Regions from separate parts of the Homo sapiens genome. Here region 2 is linked to region 1. The links are contacts of gene promoters, found by promoter capture Hi-C in blood cells and fetal thymus (Javierre and others, 2016). All regions are on one chromosome and are shown on one strand. Each heading gives the region's core, a stretch centred on a gene start or on the middle of the fragment in contact. The rest is flanking DNA. Distances are from core to core; before and after follow the strand shown.

Evidence for each region. The method cuts DNA at HindIII sites, captures the fragments that hold promoters and counts their contacts. A CHiCAGO score of 5 or more calls a contact.
Region 2: a fragment that was not itself captured here is called in contact with the fragment with the promoter of CEP97 in region 1 in 1 of 17 cell types (total CD8 T cells); the score reaches 6.2 in total CD8 T cells.

Annotation. Positions count from the first base shown.
Region 1 is chr3:101,722,978-101,726,241 of GRCh38, reverse strand. CEP97 (centrosomal protein 97) reads right to left here and starts at 1,628. Exons shown (of 11, transcript NM_024548.4): 1 at 1,523-1,628. The coding sequence starts at 1,565. RefSeq lists enhancers at 150-761, 933-1,002, 1,283-1,652. The HindIII fragment of the contact is 6,095 bases long and covers 1-3,264 here.
Region 2 is chr3:102,534,703-102,538,199 of GRCh38, reverse strand. No RefSeq gene overlaps it. Among named protein-coding and RNA genes, the nearest start is that of ZPLD1, 100 kb to the right of the region's middle. RefSeq lists a silencer at 1,381-1,675. The HindIII fragment of the contact is 794 bases long and covers 936-1,729 here.

The DNA of each region.
Region 1 (3,264 bases), core at 379-2,878:
CCAGCTTACAGCCTAACTACCAATATATCCTAAAGTGCCCAAACTGTGATTTTGAAAATCAAAGTATAGTTCAACTAATTCTCCCATAAAATAGGATAATACACCCATTTCCCTAGCTTGATATGAGAATTAAAAGAGAAACCATATGAATAGTACTTAGCCCCGTTCCTGCCACCGGGCACTCAATAAGGCACTTTAGTATAACATAGACGTTCAAACCCTGGCTCCACCAATTAACCATTGTGGTATATTAGGCAAATTATTGATTTCTTTTGGGCTCCCTTTTCTACTCTGTAAAGTGGGGATAATACCTGCCTTATAAATGTAGTTCTACAGAGAAAATGAGATAATGTAAAAAAAAAAACAAAAAAAAAAAGGACTGAGAACATCGCCTGGGTCATACAAAGTGCTCTGTAAATGTTAACTGCTATTAACAGTTAAGTAGCCCTGGTGGGCTTGAGAGGTGTGGTTTAAGAAAAGCCGATCTCCAAAGAGGGCGGGGCCAGAGAAACGGCCAATTTCAAATTTACACCCAGATTAGGACTACTGCAGGAAATAATTATGCCAGATTGCTCTCCTGGAGGATTTCAACGTTTTCCCGTTGTCTAATGGCTCTTAGCATGTGAGGAGTCGTGAGCCCCTCTGAAAAATTGATGAAAGGGGTGTGCTGTCTCAGAAAAGTGCACAGCCTTTGTACACAATTCCAAGGGGTCGACAGAGAGGTCTGAGAACCATCCACCAACTCTTCCCCCAAGAATTTACAGCTCCCAGAAAATGCACTCCTGGTCTAAGCCATGAAGACGGGCCTCGACCCCTGGGCCCTGTCCCCGATTTAGAGGACTGACTGCTGCCAAGCCTCGGAGCTGTAACCAAAACAAAAGCAGCTCGCGTCCGGCGCCCCAAAGAGGTAGGTATCTTCAGGCCACAGAAGCACCCACACAGTCCTGTGCTCTACTGGGCAGCGACCAAACTCGATCCTAGGACCCGTGTGCAAGAACAAGGAGTACAGAACTGCGGGCTCTGGATCATCCCTTAGATTTTATCACGGCCACTGGCCACCTCCGAGGAAGGGTTCAAAGCCAGACTAGGCAGCGGTCTCTGAGGGAAGGTTTTCCTGATGGTTCCAGGAACCAAGAAGAGAGGGAGATGTGTGAAGCGAAAGAGGGAGATCCCAAACATTTCGCTTAGGCACCCATGACTCAAAGTAAATGGTCAAGAAAGGTCATCGCAGCCCGAAATCCACCGCCTCCTCAGCATCGGGAGCGCGGGAGCCAGGGCGCCGGGCCGCGCGAAGGCTTCTGGGGGCTGTAGTCCCCCGCTCGGCCCTCACCGCGACGCCGGAGAGCTGGGAACGGCAGGTGAACTACAACTCCCAGAGGGTAGCCCGCCTCCGCGACGACCACAGATCCGCATCAAAAGAACTGGTCCAGAACTGCACATCTAAACCTAGGTTTTCTGCTCTCCACTATTTAATTCAGCTCCGTGAAGTAAACCTTAGGACTCGGGGTAGGGATCGCCTTACCTTCTCCGGGAGGCAAAGCCGCGTCCACGCGCGCCACCGCCATATTTGCTGCTTGCTAATAATACCAGGCAACCGTCCTCCCGCGGCTCTGTGGAGCTTGTAATCTGAAGGAGGGAGCCGGAAACTATAACTCCCAGGATGCACGGCTCCCAGACGGCCCAATTGGCTGCTTACGCCTAATGATGTGAAGCTGGAGTTAGAATCTGAGGGTAGTGAGCTCAGGGACCCTGGCCCACTCGCTTATTTGACAGATGAGTCAACTGCGTTATTAGATGATCATTTCACTTCCTTGTCCAGGCGTTTGCGAAATTTGACACTTTTACCATCGGGATGATTGTAAGGAAGCTACTTAATGCAGACTGCATTTTACAACTCATTGCTGGAAGTCTCTGTGGGGGCTGCTCCATTCTTTTGATAATTGTGAATAAGTTGAAAGTTTTCAACTCCGCTATAGGAATGACCGATCTTGTTGAGATCATAAAAGTGGATACATTTTATTTGAAATTTTAGTTAAGTAAAAGTAAAGTATGCCGAAATAGAAACTTTTATACAGTATTTTTAAGTGATTGTTTGATTGTTCTTGAATATTTGACAAATCTTTTGACTTACGGGTATAAGTATGAACCAAGAACTTTTCCAGGGAGTATTCAAAATAACTTTAAAATATAATCTCCAGGCCGGGCGCAGTGGTTCACGTCTGTAATCCCAGCACTTTGGGAGGTCAACGCAGGCTGATCACCTGAGGTCGGGAATTCGAGACCCGCCTGGCCAACATGGAGAAACCCCGTCTGTAGTAAAAATACAAAAAAATTAGCCTGGCGTGGCGGCGCATGCCTGTAATCCCAGGTACTCGGGAGGCTGAGGCAGGAGAATCGCTTGAACCCGGGAGGCAGAGGTTGCAGTGAGCCGATATCATGCCACTGCACTCCAGCCTGGGCAACAAGAGCGAAACTATGTCTCAAAAATATATATATTTTATATAGATATTGCATATATTATAATTATATATAAATTATATATTATATATGTTATATATTTAGATATTATATATTATATGTTATATATTTAGATATTATATATTATATATGTTATATATTTAGATATTATATATTATATATGTTATATATTTAGATATATTATATATGTCATATATTTATATATTATATATTATATATGTTATATATTTAGATATTATATATTATATATGTCATATATTTAGATATTATATATTATATATGTTATATATTTAGATATTATATATTATATATGTTATATATTTAGATATATATGTTATATGTTATATATTTATATATTATATATGTTATACATTTATATATTATATATGTTATATATTTATATATTATATATTATATATGTTATATATTTATATATTATATATTATATATGTTATATATTTATATATTATATATTATATATGTTATATATTTATATATTATATATTATATATGTTATATATTTATATATTATATATGTTATATGTTATATATTATATATGTTATATATTTATATATTATATGTGTTATATATGTTATATATTATATATTATATATGTTATATATATTATATATTATATATTATATATGTTATATATTATATATTATATATGTTATAGATTTATATATTATATATTATATATGTTATATATTTATATATTATATATTATATATGTTATATATTTATATATAAATATAGATTATGTATATAAATATATTTTTATATAG
Region 2 (3,497 bases), core at 83-2,582, 810 kb before region 1:
GTGGCTGTTCCATTCCCATCATCATATCCACATTCCAGCCAGCAGAAAGGTAGAAAAAGACAAGGGGAGAAGAAAATGCATGTTCTTCATGAAGGCATGGCACCAAAGTTAGCACATATCACACAGTTGATGCCACACTTAAGAAGCTAGGGCATATTTGGCTGTATAATCATGTACCAGCACAAAGTTCTATTGAAAGAAAAAGAAAAACAATGGTTATTCTGGGATAAATAGCAGAATCTGCCACGTCTGGGTTAAACAAAATTGATAATTTTATGCCTGATAACCCCCATGAAAAAGGCTCTCGTAACAAAAATCTCCCCTCTCCCACTTCATACCCTAAACTCTTGGCTAATTTCTTTAATCATGTTTATTCTAAACAGCCCTCAAAATAAAATGGAGTTATTATTTGGAAGGCTGAAGTGAGGATAGATTTCGTTCAAAAAAAGATAGCATAGAAAAAAATAATGGAGGTATATTTTCAAGGTTTCTAAGTACTTGAATTCAATCATTTTTAAATATGATTAAAATTTAATAATTTTTTAAAATTTAATCACCTGAATTTTTAAGAATGAATGGTTTTCTAGTCTCAGAATATATGCCTTCTTTATCTGTATCTATGTGTTTGGTTAAAACCTTTTTATCTCCTGTGCCATTTTGATCTATTGAGCAAGATGAAATCAGTCTCTATCCTTTGTTTCTACCATTTCTAATCGATCTATTTTTATTATTAATAATAATAGTTAACATTTTTGAGTACTTGCTGCTTAATTTATTTCTCCCAAATGCCCAGTGATGTATGCACTATTGTTATCCCTAGCTCACAGATTACAAAATTGGAACTAGCAAGGGCTATAGCCAGGATGCCACCCAGATAATCATCTATTGAGCAACCAACTAAAACCCTATGCAGTGCTTTATCAAGCTAACAAGCTTTTTGTACAAAAACAGAATCAGGGTGGGTGATCAAGCATAAAGCATTCAGTACAAACAAACACTGCAGAAGAAATAAAAGATTGTTCACAATAACAGAAAAACTAAAGACAAGAAAAATTTTAAGCAGTCTTTAGTGTTTTTAATTCCCTAGTTCCAATGCTTCCTAACCAAGAAAGACCATGAACAGACCACTTCGGTTCTATACAGAAATGAAAGTAGAAAATGCAAAATATTTTCATTAATGAAAATCCCAGAATTATTCAGAACTGGCAAATGATAATATGTATGGTTTTAACTAATCATTTTTCAAGAGTAGATAACAGGTTCCTTGATAGAAATCCTTGGCTTGTTTTCATTTCTAAAATGTGTGCTGTTGACTTTTCCATCACATTGCTCTAAATGAACAGGAGAACGTGGGCTGAGCCTGAACAACGAGAACTCTAAAAGCGTGCGCAGGTAGCACATTTGTGTGTGCAGATGTTTAGAAGGAAAGGTGCTCCCAGGAATTGCTAACCAGAGGATTAGAGCTCAGCACCAGACAAGCTGTCATTTTCTGTGGTTGTATTTCTGAGCTTATTTACTAGGTGGCGATATAATCTTAAAAATAAGCATTAACATTTCGGTGCCAAAGTGTCAGCTCTCCAGTTTTTTCACTGAAGCGTTTTTCACTTCCACTCCTTCTTTTCTTTGGCTCTTACTTTTGCTGTCTTTCTCTGAAATTTTGTGTCATCTGCTTTATTTTCATAACAGAAAAACTATTAAACCATAAAAGCTGGCTTGAGAAAGAGAAGCTTGAAATCCCTCAGTAGTATGATCTGAATATAGAAATATAGGATCTTCAGTCTTTTGCTATCAGCAGCTCCTGAGGGCTGACTAACAGTCAGATTTATTTGCTGCATATCTGGAATTCTTTTTATTGCTAAAACGTTAGAGAAGTAAACCCATTTTCTGGTAAATGGGTAAACATATACACATATATATCTTTCTCAATACTCCTAGAAATAGACCTCCTTGAGACCAATGAAAAGCAATACATTATCAAATGTTTTTGCAAATCCAAATCCTCCACGCTTACTTCCTCTATCTCATCTTCACACATCACACCACCAGCCTCAAAGTGTATAGTAATTTTGGAAGAACTTACAGAATTATGAATAAGCAAATATCAGTTAAGGTGCTTTATAAAGAGTTAAATGGCATTCAAATACTAATTACTATTATTTTACAATATCCAGTTCTATCATCCAGGGACAAGGTAGGGGATATCTTATCTGGAAATTAGAAATAAGAAGCCTTCTTTTTTCTTGCCTTTTAAAATTATCTTGAGAAAATATCATCCCACTGGCCTATAGATGATGACCCAGAAAATGCTACCACTACAAGTTCATGTAATTACCCACTAATGTTACATGGTCATCTACTACACAGCATTGTGCTGGACATTATGACACTGTGAGAATTACTGAGGAAGATAAACCATAATCTCTCACCTCAAGAAGCACATATGTTGGTAAAGCACAGTAAACACAGTAGTTCTGACATAATATTTCTGCACTCAGAGCTCAGAGAGAGTAGGGAAGGCAGGAGGAAGTTGAAAGAAAAATAATAGATGATTCAAACTTGAACACATCCTGGAAGGATGGGAAGGATATTGACATGTGAGAAGGGGAAAGGTGCAAGAGGAGAACCTTCCAGACAGATTGACCTTGCAACTGGGATTGAACAAGTGTTCATTTAAGCCAGAATCAATGAGGAAAGGTAATGTGGGTGGATGCTACTTAAAAGGGGGAAACAGAGAAAGATTGGCGGAGTGGGGTTTGGATTGTGGAAGGCCATGAGAAGCAAGCAGAAGAGTAGATTTAATTTGACAGCAAACACCATTTCGAGGAGCACCAGAGCAACACTGTGAAAGAGTTGTTTTAGAAAAATCAGCCTATGCTGGGCCCGGTGGCTCACACCTGTAACCCCAGCACTTTTGGAGGCCAAGGCAGGGGGATCACCTGAGGTCAGGAGTTGGAGACCAACCTGGCCAACATGGCAAAACCCTGTCTCTACTAAAAATACAAAAAAATTAGTTGGGCATGGTGGCAGGTGCCTATAATTCCAGCTACTTGGGAGGCTGAGGCAGGGGAATCGCTTGAACCTGTGGGGCGGAGGTTGCAGTGAGCCAAGATCCTGCCACTGCACTCCAGCCTGGGCGACAGAGTGAGACTCCATCTCAAAAAAAAAAAAAGAAGAAGAAGAAGAAGAAATATCAGCCTAGCCATGAGAGAGGAAGGGATTAGAGAGGAAAACAAGACAAAACAGCAAGGTGATCATTCATGCATGAGAAGGTCTGGGCTAAAAGGACAGCAGTAAGGATATATTCACAAAAGTAAATATGAGAGCAATGTCAAAAGAAAATAATGCCTAAAATCTAAGACTGACTGATTTGGATGAATGAAGGGGACAAAAGTTACTCTTGTTAACTGGGATAATGGTGGTTTCACTGAAAGAGACTATGAAATTTGGGAGGGAAAGACAGTAAATGTGGCTCTAGAAATGCTATTTTTGAGGTGACC